Regions from separate parts of the Homo sapiens genome. Here all the other regions are linked to region 1. The links are contacts of gene promoters, found by promoter capture Hi-C in blood cells and fetal thymus (Javierre and others, 2016). All regions are on one chromosome and are shown on one strand. Each heading gives the region's core, a stretch centred on a gene start or on the middle of the fragment in contact. The rest is flanking DNA. Distances are from core to core; before and after follow the strand shown.

The links. The method cuts DNA at HindIII sites, captures the fragments that hold promoters and counts their contacts. A CHiCAGO score of 5 or more calls a contact.
Region 2: a contact is called between the fragment with the promoter of HSBP1 here and the fragment with the promoter of PSMD7 in region 1, in 4 of 17 cell types (naive CD8 T cells, naive CD4 T cells, total CD4 T cells and 1 more). The highest score is 7.4, in naive CD8 T cells.
Region 3: a fragment that was not itself captured here is called in contact with the fragment with the promoter of PSMD7 in region 1 in 4 of 17 cell types (monocytes, naive CD8 T cells, naive CD4 T cells and 1 more); the score reaches 7.9 in monocytes.

What each region holds. Positions count from the first base shown.
Region 1 is chr16:74,294,056-74,298,063 of GRCh38, reverse strand. It overlaps PSMD7 (proteasome 26S subunit, non-ATPase 7), which reads right to left and starts at 1,250. Exons shown (of 7, transcript NM_002811.5): 1 at 1,076-1,250. The coding sequence starts at 1,149. RefSeq lists enhancers at 236-1,125, 1,026-1,335, 1,126-2,017. The HindIII fragment of the contact is 3,645 bases long and covers 1-1,917 here.
Region 2 is chr16:83,805,774-83,809,781 of GRCh38, reverse strand. It overlaps HSBP1 (heat shock factor binding protein 1), which reads right to left and starts at 1,804. Exons shown (of 4, transcript NM_001537.4): 1 at 1,661-1,804; 2 at 1,036-1,102; 3 at 357-477. The coding sequence starts at 1,705. The coding sequence ends at 359. RefSeq lists silencers at 1,368-1,657, 1,675-1,851 and an enhancer at 1,509-2,010. The HindIII fragment of the contact is 4,790 bases long and covers 1-4,008 here.
Region 3 is chr16:81,077,598-81,081,605 of GRCh38, reverse strand. No RefSeq gene overlaps it. Among named protein-coding and RNA genes, the nearest start is that of C16orf46, 2.4 kb to the right of the region's middle. RefSeq lists enhancers at 3,286-3,944, 3,945-4,008. The HindIII fragment of the contact is 2,067 bases long and covers 1,341-3,407 here.

The DNA.
Region 1 (4,008 bases), core at 1-2,500:
GTCTCAGCCTCCCAAAATGCTGGGATTACAGGCGTGAGCCACCATGCTCGGCCTCGTGTTTTAAATAAAAACTGAAACCTCATCTATATATACATTTTTTTTTTTGAGACGGAGTCTAATCAGATTCCCATTTAAAAATGTTAATGGGTTAAAACCACAGCTGATCCAGGAAGCCCTTCGGGGTGCTGAGCATCATCCAGATTTCGATAACAGGAACTCGGTCAAATGAAGACAAACATAGATACGACCCTGGGGGCGGGGGTCAGGGCCAAATTGAAGCTAGCCCCCTTAGCCCCACTCCGGCATCATCCAGGCATCATTCACTTTGCATCATTCACATTTCGGTGAAATCAACTTGGTTAAACGAGGATAAACATAAATACGACCCTGGGGCCGGGGTCAGGGCCAAATGAAGGTAGCCACCCTGCACCCCACTCCAGCATCATCCATATTTCGGTGAAACCAATTCGGTCAAACGAAGATAAACATAGCCTTGGGGCGGGGCTAAATGGAGCTAGCCCACTCCGCCCCACCCAAGCATCATCCAGACATCAGTCACTTTGCATTATTCACATTTCAGTGAAATCAACTGAGTCAAATGAAGATACGACCCTGGGGTCGGGGGTCAGAGCCAAATGAAGCTAGCCCGCCTCCGCCCCACCCTGGCTTTATCCAGATTTCGGCAAAACGAACTTCAAAACGAAGTGACAGACACGAGCTTGGGGGCGGGGGTCAGGGCCAACTAAAGCTAGCCGCATCTCCCGACCCCCAGCATCATCCAGATTTCGGTAAAACGAACTTCGGCAAAACGAACTCGGAAAGGGAACTCTGTAAAACAAACAGGCTAAACGGAACAGGCAGCCAAGGCCCCGAAGTGGCGGCGGCTGGGGCAGGGGCGGGAGGCTGGATGACTCCGGCATCGTGAGCCGACGCTGGTCTGGACTCGTGAACAAGTAAGGGTCACCAGCCGCCCTATCTGCGTCCCCAGCTCGTCCGCGGCCGCCGCGCCATCTCCAGCGTGCCCGTGACTCAGCAGCGGCTGCGCCGCCGGCCCAGCTATAGGGCGCTCGCTCACCGGTTGAAATGATCCACCACACTGAGCAGCACCAGGGGGTGGACCACCACCTTCTGCACTGCCAGCTCCGGCATCGCGACACACCCCGCTCGCCAGGCCTGGCTCCCTGCCACACGCAAACACCGGCAGCAGTAGCGGTCACCGGTACCCTTTCAGGCCCAGTTCCTCTTCTTCCGGTTCGTCAGCCCTCGCGCGGCCTCCTTCTTCCGCTCCCAGAGTGCCTCGCGCGGCGGGCCCGGATCTTCGCCACCGCCGTCATTTGTGGGCGGAGAAAGGGCTGGAGAAAGGCGGGAATCGCCCCTCGTCCCTCGCCGTGCGTTTCCCTGGACTTAAGGGCCGAAGGGACACCGGCGACTTGACCTCCTGGTATTGGCCTGTACCGTCACCTGCAGAGGCTTTTCGCCTCAATTCCTTCCCAGCACCCTCCCCCCGCCACCCCCCCAAAGTAAATAGTTGACAGTTTACTTTTCTACCACCCGGAAGAAGTTCACTTTTGCTTCAGGTCAAAATCCTCCGCGATTTCTGAGAGGAACTTTAAATCTCTAACATAAGAGCACGCTTTTAATGTAATTTGGTAATTTATCTCATTCTCGTTTTCATTGCCGGGGGAATTTCTCCTTTATCTTTACTGTGGACACTTTGCAATGAACGTGGCAACCTGCAGGTTTCCACCTGTCGTTATATTACTGCGTAACTAGGGCTAGAAGAACGCAATTGTGCCGTTGCTTTTGAAATCAAAATTTACAGAAGCGTTGAAGAAAAGACGGAAGGAAGGCAGTAAGGAAGTATGTTGTGATATGTAGCTAGGAAAGAGAAGACTAAGGTAGACAAAGACTTAAGCTTATTTGCAGGAGGCAAATTATAAGAAAAATCATACAGGTTTATATCGTCTCATTTGAAGTTGCTGTTTCTGTAAACGAAAACAGTACTTAAGCAACCTGAATTATTTACTTATATTTTGTTCTGTTTTTAAACAATTTTTGCTTTCCCTTTATCACCAGAGGATTTTCCCAACATTTTGGCCTCTTGTCTTTTTAAGGTGGACTTCCTGATCTCCAAATGTCAAGGGACACACTCAGTCTCTCTTATTTGTGGGTGGTGAAAAACATTAGCAAAGATTAGACTGAAATTTGGCCACCAATGAGAGACATTAATGTAGTCAGGAGTTTGAATTTGTCTGCATGTGAATTTATCTTTGTCTTCTGTCTGCAACTTGGCTTTATTTTCAGATTTTCTGCTAGATCTGCAAGGAAGTAAATGGCAGGATATGCTTAATATTCATAATTAATTGAAGAGACTCAATGCTATCTTTATTTTTTCATTTTTTTTTTTGGTACAGTTGGTGTCTCACTATGTTGTCCAAGCTGGTCTTAAACCCCCAGCCTCAAGCAATCCTCCCACCTCAGCCTCCCAAACTGCTGGGATTACAGGTGTGAGCTACTGTGCCTGGCCATTCATTCTTAATTATAACTAGAAAGATATAAGGGTTATGTTAATGGGGAAAGAAAACTAAGAATTATTGAATCTATTGAGTGCCTATAATATGCCAGCCCTGGTTCAGACGCAAATATTTAATCCTTTTAATTAATGCTTCTCAAACTTTGATATGCTTACAAATCACCAGGGGACCTTGTTAAAATTCAGATTCTGATTCTGTAGGTCTGAGATGGGACCTGAAATTCTGAGCTTCTAACAAGCTTTCAGGTGAGGCCCATGCTGTGTTAACAAGGCTTGTAACAACCTTACGAAGTCGGTATTTTCTCATTACAAATGAAAATTGTTGCTCAAATGTTGCTCTCGAGGTGGGCTTTTTCTCACGCTTTGAAAAAATTTTGTCTTTCTCCCCCTAATGTGTTTCTGCTTTAGTTTTCTCCATAGTTTTTACCACTTGTGAATAGTTTGTAGAATTTACTTATTCTGTTCATTCTTTGTCTCTCATTAGAATGTAAGCTCTTGTTTAGTTTGTAAACTCCTGTTTACTTTTTTTTTTTTTTTTAAATAAATGAGAGACAGTCTCGCTCTGTCACCCAGTCCGGAATGCAGTGGCACAATCTTGGCTCACTGCAACCTTCACCTCCCAGGTTCAAGCGATTCTCATACCTCAGCCTCCCAAGTAGCTGGGACTACAGGTGAGCGCCACCATGCCCCACTAATTTTTCTATTTTTAGTAGAGATGGAGTTTCACTGTGTTGGCCAGGCTTATCTGGAACTCCTGAACTCAAGTGATCTGCCTGCCTTGGCTTCCCAAAGTGCTGGGATTATAGGTGTGAGCCACTGCACCTGGCCCCTAGTTTACTTTTATATTATCATTGTCTTGAAAAGTGCCTGGCACATAGGAGACATTCAGTAATTACTATATAAATGAATAATTAGTTATGATAGTGAAATGGAAGATGACAATAAGGCTCAGACATTGGGAAGGATCTTTCCAAGATCACATTGCTGGTCAGGATCAAGCCAGGTTTCTGTGACCCCAGTTCCTAATTGGTTGGTGTGCCTGCTTGCAGCAGTCTTAGGCAAAAGAATTGCATTAATTTTATTAAGATACTAAATTTCAAACTTTAGAAAGTGATATATTTTATTTCACACTGAGTTCACTTTGCAGTTGTACTAAGCCTAAGCAAGCTGTTTCGAAGCTTATTGGGTGTCTCCAATCCTGACTCACTGAAGCAGTGTGAAACTGACTATGAGCTTAAAAAATTATTCTAGTTACACATGATCATTGTGGAAAAATGACACTATTCAGATAAATAAAAATGAATATAGAGCTGGGCATGGTGGCCTGTGCCTGTAATCCCAGATACTTGGAAGGCTGAGGTTGGAGGATCACTTGAGCCCAGGAGTTCATGACCCTTCCGAACAGTAGGACCTTGTCACAAATAATTAATTAATTGAAATAAATTAAAATCACCTGAAATCGTACCACATACAGA
Region 2 (4,008 bases), core at 555-3,054, 9.5 Mb before region 1:
AAAATAAAAAAAAAGACCGGGCACGGCGGCTCACACCTGTAATCCCAGCACTTTGAGAGGCTGAGGCGGGCAAATCACTCAAGGTCAGAATTCGAGACCAGCATGACCAACATGGAGAAACCCCGTCTCTACTAAAAATACAAAATTGGCTGGGTGTGGTGGCACAAGCCTGTAATCCCAGCTACTCGGGAGGCTGAGGCAGGACAATCGTTTGAACCCAGGAGGGCAAAGGTTGCAGGGAGCCGAGATCGTGCCATTGCACTCCAGCCTGGGCAACAAGAGCAAAACTCCGTGTCAAAAAAAAAAAAAAAAAAAAAAAGAAAAGAAAAGAAAAAAAAAATTGCCCCCTTCCTCACCTTCAACTCTTTTGCGTGGCAGGTATCTTGTTTTCACTTTCCAGTTCTTCCACCCCAGCCTGTGTCATGAGGTCCGCGATATTCTTTTCCAGATCATCAATGCGACTACTCATATCATCAAGTGCTGAAGTTAAAGACAACGCGTGCCAACATCTCATTGAGCCTTTTTCCTCCCGTCCCTGCAGACTACAGCCTTAAACACAACGACTTTAGGGAAACTGGTCTTCCAATTTTCTTTCGACACTGTTACACGCTGGTGGGTAAGAGTACAGGACTGTGGGGCATGGCTACCCCGCATCGGATTCCAGCCCTGACCCTTACTAGTGATGGAACCCCTAAACCTCAATTTATTCATTTGCTAAAGATGATAACACTACAACCCACTCATAAGGTCATGCTGAGCATCAAAAGACACACACAAAAGCGCTTAGTTCACAGTGCATGGTCCACCACACCAGCTATTAGGATTGGTAGACGTATGCTCCTTGAGCCAGGAGTCTAACTCAGCTTTGCCCCTAGCTCTCGGCGCAGTCCTTCTCAGAAACACAGTACAATCCAAGCTCAAATTCTACAAGTGAATGGCTGAAGCTAGCCTGAAAACTACTCATTTATCCCCACCACTGCCCGGCAAATAGGCTCCAAAGGCCCACAGGAGGCCGACTGCAGATAAAAAGGATATTTCTCCCAATGATCTGGTCAGACATGGTCTGAAATTTATCTTGCATCTGCTGCAGGAGTGTCTGCACCTAAGAAAAACCGAAACAAACAAACACGGTCCACATCGATCCTGAGACAACTTCCTGGGATCAGGACGCAAGCCCTGGTCCCGGGGTTCCAGCCCCATTTCTGCCTCTGGACAGCTGTGCGGCCTTCAGCAAGATCTTCCTTCTCTGGGCTTCCGTTTTCCAACCTGTCCAATTAGACTGCTGGGCTGGGGAGGCCGCTGCGACTCAAAGCTCAGGGTCTTTAGGTTGTTTCTGCCGGGCTGGGGCACCCGGGGGTGTGTGAGGAGTTGAAGGGCGGGGAGGGTGTCAGAGGTAGGCGGGAGGGACCCGGAGGGCGTTCGCGACAGATGAATGGGGCTACTGGAAGGGGTCGGGCTTGGGGGCGCCCGCGGGGAGACTGGCCCGCACCGAGCGCCCCGGGGGTCAAGGTGGCCGGGAGCCTCGGCCAGAGACGCTTCCAGAAACGGGGCCTCGGCAGACGCCACGCGCGGCCGCGGTGGGCGCGCCTCTGTCCAGCAGGGCTTGGCCCGGCGCCGCCCGGGAAGGCCGCGGCCTCCGGCCCTCACAGCCGTCCCTTACCACCGAGGTGAGGTCCTGCACGGTCTTGGGGTCAGTCTCGGCCATCTCCCCGATGCCCAGCTTGGCGGTGATGTCTCAGACCGTAACCTACACTTCCGTTTGTCCGCTCAGTCGCCCCGGGCCGCTGCTTCTCGCGACGAGACTGGCAGCTCGCGGGACCGCGGGGCATTATGGGAGTAGTAGTTTCTCCCGCACCGGAAGGGCCTCGAGGCCGCGCGCTTCCGTTCCAAGGAGCGGCCCCACCCCACTCTCCCCGCCTTCTTTCGCATAGCCCCTCCCCTCCCTCTATGCCCCGCCCCTCACGCAGCGCGCCGTCAGTGGGGTGGAAAGTGAGACCAACTCAGAAATGGAGCAATAGAGGCAGGGAGTGGTCTTGGCCTCTCTTCCAGGCTGTAGTCAGTCGAAAGACGGCTCTGGGGTTTCTTTGGCCTGTCGGGACGAACTTACAGAACTTTTGCCCTTCAACAAGCCCCACTGTACCCTTGTAACTGCCCCCAAGCCAAGGAACATGACCCACCCCTACCCGCCCCGGGAGCCCCATGGCTCCTGTCCTGTTCTGTCATCTCCACCCTATGAAGGTGGCCAGCGTCTGGAGTTTAGCCCAGTAGGTTCATTGTGCCCGTCAGGTTCATATGAGGGGATTCAGACAGGAAGCTGTCCATCATGCCTGGCTTCTTTCACTCCACGCAATGCCTGCTGTTGAGTGGGGAAGGCTTCCGGCATCAGGGTTAGACTGTGGGTTTGGGTGTTGAAGGAGGTGGGCACTGCTGATTTGGAACCTCAAGTTCCAACCCCACAGGTGGTCTTTAGGATTGGGTCTCATGGCAAGGGGATAGGAGAGTCCTTGACTGCGGGCCTGGCATGTTCTGGAAACTTTCACACATCTCATTTAAGGACTGTGCTATGTGAGGGGTCAGCTCCAGTTTGACTTTAGCTAGGGAGAGGCTGTAAGGTGTTAGAGCTGTTACGGGAAAGGGTCCTGATCCAGACCCCAAGAGAGGGGGTTCTTGGATCTCATGCAAGAAAGAATTCAGGGCGAGTCTGTAAAGTGAAAGCAAGTTTAAGAAAATGAAGGAATAAAAGAATGGTTACTCCATAGACAGAGCCCTGAGGGCTGCTGGTTGCTCATTTTTATAGTTATTTCTTGATTATATGCTAAACCAGGGGTGGGTGATTCATGCCTCCCCTTTTTAGACTATATAGCGTAACTTCTTGACGTTGCCATGGCATTTGTAAACTGTCATAGCGGTAATGGGAGTGTAGCAATGAAGACAAGCAGGGTTCACTCTTATTGCCATCTTGGTTTTGGTGGGTTTTGGCCGGCTTCTTTACCGCAAGCTGTTTTATCAGCAAGGTCTTTATGACCTGTACCTTGTGCTGACCTCCTATCCCATCCTGTGACTTAGAATCCTTTAACTGTCTGGGAATGCAGCCCAGTAGTTCTCAGCCTCAGTTTACCCAGCTCCTATTCGAGATGGAGTTGCTCTTGTTCAAACGCCTCTGCCAGACCCACCAGTGTCTCTAACAAACCCGGAATCCAGTTGGCCTTGAGGCATGAGACTTCAACTCCCTTTACCACCCCTTCCCCCTCACTCACACCTTTGCCCCTCACCCTTCACACCTCATCCTTTCCTATAGAGAGATCTTCCTTTCTGTGTAAGTATACACAACTTTTTTGTAATTGGCTGTTGTCAACTGGTATTTGGCTAGTGCTTTACCCGACTACTTGAAATAAAAATATCTCAGTGTTTTAAGTTAATCCTCAGAAGACCCTGTGATATAATTATCATAATTTTACATTTTTGAGAAAACAGATGCAGAGGCGTTAAGAAACTGGAACAAGGTCATCAAATTAAGGAAGTAAGAGACGCAGGACTTCCTGACTCTGCATCTTCTCCTTTTTTCTCACCATTCTAGAATTCTCTGAGTTTTTTGAGCTTAGAGCAGAGTTTCTCAAGAGCTGCAATACTGGCATTTGAGTCAAGTCGTTCTTTATTGTTGGTGGTGGAGGGGGCACCCTGTATATTGTAGGACGTTGGGCAGCATCTCTGACTTCTACCTACTAGATGCCAGTATCTCAGTTTTCTTAAAAGACTTTTTTTTTTTTTTTTTTTTTTTTGAGATGGAGTCTTGCTGTGTTGCCTAGGCTGGAGTGCAGTGGCACCATGTCGACTCACTGCAACCTCCGCCTCCCCGGTTCAAGCGATTCTCCTGCCTCAGCCTCCTGAGTAGCTGGGATTACAGGTGAGCACCACCATGCCCAGCTAATCGTAAAAGACTTTTCATAAAACTTCAGAACTCCTTAAAAACTAGTGAATAGCCAAGGTGAAGAAAGCCCTCAGGCTTCT
Region 3 (4,008 bases), core at 1,125-3,624, 6.8 Mb before region 1:
AAGCCTCTGCCAGTAGCCATATCACTGCTGAACTATATCTTTGTACCCTTAAATCTTAAGTATTGGCCAGGTGTGGTGGCTCACGCCTGTAATCCTACCACTTTGGGAGGCTAAGGTGGGTGGATCTCTTGAGCCCAGGAGTTTGAGACCAGCCTGGGCAACATGGTGAAACCCCGTCTCTACAAAAATATAAAAATTAGCCTGGCATGGTGGCATGTGCCTCTGGTCCCAGCTATTTGGGAGTCAGGTAGAATCACTTTGTGTCTGGGAGGTCAAGGCTGCAGTGAGCCAAGATCACACCACTGTACTCCAGCCTGAGTGACAGTGAGAACGCATCTCAAAAAAAAAAAAGTATCCAAGGTATCCTGGATGATTGTCTATATTGCGTAATTGTCAATCATGTTAATTGATCTGTCTGCTTTGAAAATAGATGGGGATGAGTAATAATTACATAGATTTACCCTTTAGTTTTGAAAGTTCTCTAGACACATCGATTACTACCATCATTTCACAGGTATGAAAGGTGATAGGATAAGAAATTTGTTAAATAGTTGGGTGGTCGTGGTAATGATTTTCATATTTCCTGGTCTACTCTTAATCAGTCCCTTAGCAAATTTTACTATAAAAATATTTAAATGGGACAGGCGCGGTGGCTCACGCTTGTAATCCCAGCACTTTGGGAGGCCGAGGCAGGCGGATCACGAGGTCAGGAGATCGAGACCATCCTGGCTAACACGGTGAAACCCCGTCTCTACTCAAAATACAAAAAAATTAGCCGGGCATGGTGGCGGGCGCCTGTAGTCCCAGGTACTTGGGAGGCTGAGGCAGAAGAATGGCATGAACCCCACATGCGGAGCCTGCAGTGAGCCAAGATGATGCCATGCACTCCAGCCTGGGCAACAGAGCGAGACTCCGTCTCAAAAAAAAAAAAAAAAATTTTTAATGGGAATCTCAGGGAAGAGGGGGAGGTTGAATGTTCTAAATAAAGGTGGGAAGCAAAAGTGGCCATTCTAGAGTATGAAAGTCCGTGAGTGGTTATAGTCTCTGAAGAAGGTGGGCAGTTTTTTATTTTTCCCTTTTCCTGCCAAAGACACACATAACTTGCTCTGTAACAACCCCTCTTTTTTCAAAGAGCAGAACATTTGGCAACTTGCTCTTCCACTATTTAGAACACAGAGCCAAATCCACTGTCATTGATGTCACAGTGCTGCCAAAAATACAGGCTTTGAATGGCCCTCCAAATTGACTGAATCCAGGGAATTTAATTTTCATGACCTCATATTCCTTTTGAATGGTTTTGGCATTAGTAGAGCAGATTAATAGAAGTTTTGAAGAAAGCTTTCTAGTAACTAAAACTTGAGAAACTGAATAGGTTACCCTGCAAGTGTTAAATTTTTTTTCTGCTATCACCTCCCAGGTAGTTTTGTCGTTAGCTTTAGGTTTTGTTTTGTTTTTTGTTTTGTTTGAGACGGAGTCTCGCTCTTTTGCCCAGGCCCTCCACCTCCCGGATTCAGGCAATTCTCCTGCCTCAGCCTCCAGGGTAGCTGGGAATACAGGCACCCGGACCACGACCATGCCCAGCTAATTTTTGTATTTTTAGTAAAGATGGGGTTTCGACATGTTGGCCAGGCTGGTCTCAAACTCCTGACCTCAGATGATCCACCCGCCTCGGCCTCCCAAAGTGCTGGGATTACAGGTGTGAGCCACCGCGCCTGGCCAGTTTTAGGTTTTAATAAACCACTAGGGAGCTCTGCATGGGCATACTACTATGAAAATGAGGCTGGCCATTCAGATCAGTTCCTCAGCAAATCAGAATTTCTGAATTTTTTCAATTTCTTTTCTTTTTCTTTTTTTTTTTTTTTTTTTTTTTTTGAGATGGAGTCTGGCTCTGTCGCCCAGGCTGGAGTGCAGTGGCGCGATCTCGGCTCACTGCAAGCTCCGCCTCCCGGGTTCACGCCATTCTCCTGCCTCAGCCTCCCGAGTAGCTGGGACTACAGGCGCCTGCCACCTCGCCCGGCTAATTTTTTGCATTTTTAGTAGAGACGGCCTTTCACTGAGTTAGCCAGGATGGTCTCGATCTCCTGACCTCGTGATCCATCCGCCTCGGCCTCCCAAAGTGCTGGGATTACAGGCGTGAGCCACCGCGCCCAGCTGCTGAATTTTTCCAATTTCTATAGTTTTTCTGGGGCTACTAAAAAGAGCACAGTTTAAAAAATTATGCTAACTACAAGCGTGTCTTTTTTACTGTGTTCTTTCAGACCAAATCACACCTTCCTTCCCATACTTAAAGAGGTGCCTTTCTTTACACCAGGATTAAATTCCTCTTTCTTCCCTGCAACAGGCCTTTCCTGCCGCCCAGGCTGGAGTGCAATGGTGCGATCTTGGCTCACTGCAACCTCCACCTCACGGGTTCAGGTGATTCTCCCACCTCAGCCTCCTGAGTAGCTGGGATTACAGGCGTCCATCACCACACCCGGCTAATTTTTGTATTAGGGTTTTGAAATGGGGTTTCGCCATGTTGGCTGGGCTGGTCTTGAACTTCTGACCTCAAGTGATTGACCCGCCTCAGCCTCCCAAAGTGCTGGGATTACAGGTGTGAGCCACCGCACCCACCCATCTCCCTTTAATTTTAAAAAATAGATATGGGGTCTTGTGACACTTCCCAAGCTGGTCTCAAGTGATTCTCCTGCCTTAGCCTCTCCTGTGAGTAACTGGTATTACAGACGCAAGCCACCACTCCTGGCTTTTTTTCTTTAAAATACATTTTATGTGTTAGAGGAAGTTTACAGTCACAGCAAAATTGAGGAGAAGGTACAGTTCTGTACGCTTCCATTCTCCGTTTTTGCAAAGTGGGATCTTACTATAAGTAGAGTTTCTGGTATCTTGACTCAATTCCTATGTTGACTTTTTATAAACATAACTAGCCAAACCCTTGTCCCTTCATGTTTCCACTCAATCATGCTATCGGGCTTTTACCTGCTAAATGCAGGAATAGTTAGTGTGAAGGAAGTCAGGTTCTAGATCCTCCAACTTCCCCATGTACTTGCCGTTAGGTTATTTAATTAATATTCATTTAGCAAATCTTAGTTAAGACTTTTGGTATACTTCCCAGAAACTTTTTTCTAATATGCAAGGTCTTGCACTGTTTCCCAGGCTGGAGTGCAGTGACACAATCATAGCTTACTGCAACCTTCAACTCCTGGGCTCAAGGGAGCCTCCTGCCTCAGCTGGGATTCCAGGTGTGAGCCACGGTGCCCAGCTGTTTTCAATAGATCTGAAGGAAGACCAAAACAAATTGTCAACTGATAAAACATTTAAATGTTTTTGGTTAATACTTACTAGCTTGAGATACAATAAAACCCCTTTTATTTGCATCTTCCTATTTATGTGAACAAGGTACCTAAGCTTACACGTATGAAAAAAGTTGGAATAGAATTATAGCTGAATCCGTCTCATTGGAGCAATCACAGTGCTAGAGAACTTAGATACCAAAATTTTTTTTGAGACTTGAGTTTTGCTCTCCAGGCTGGAGTGCAGTGGTGCCATCACAGCTCACTGCAACCTCCGCCACCCGGGTTCGAGCCAGTCTCCTGCCTCAGTTTCCCAAATAGCTGAGATTACAGGCGCCCGCCACCACACCCGGCGAATTTTTGTATTTTTAGTAGAGACACGGTTTCGCCATGTTGACCAGGCTAGTTTCGAACTCCTGATCTCAGGTGATACACCCACCTCGGCCTCCCAAGTGCTGGGATTACAGGCGTGAGCCACCGCGCCTGGCCTAGATACCGGTTTTCTACAGCAGAAATAGTCACACTTTCTAAAGCAGAAGGGCTTTGGAGTCAGACCCGAGCTGGAGTGGGGGATGCTTTGCGATCTCTCTTCAGCAAGCTGTTGTTTTAGGGACGTGGGGCCACCTTCCTTTATTTGTATAAAAGATGCCACTGCCCACTTAAGAGCTGTGCTGCTCCGGGCCAGCAGTTCAGCGAGTGCCCGTCGGCCTGGTGCTGT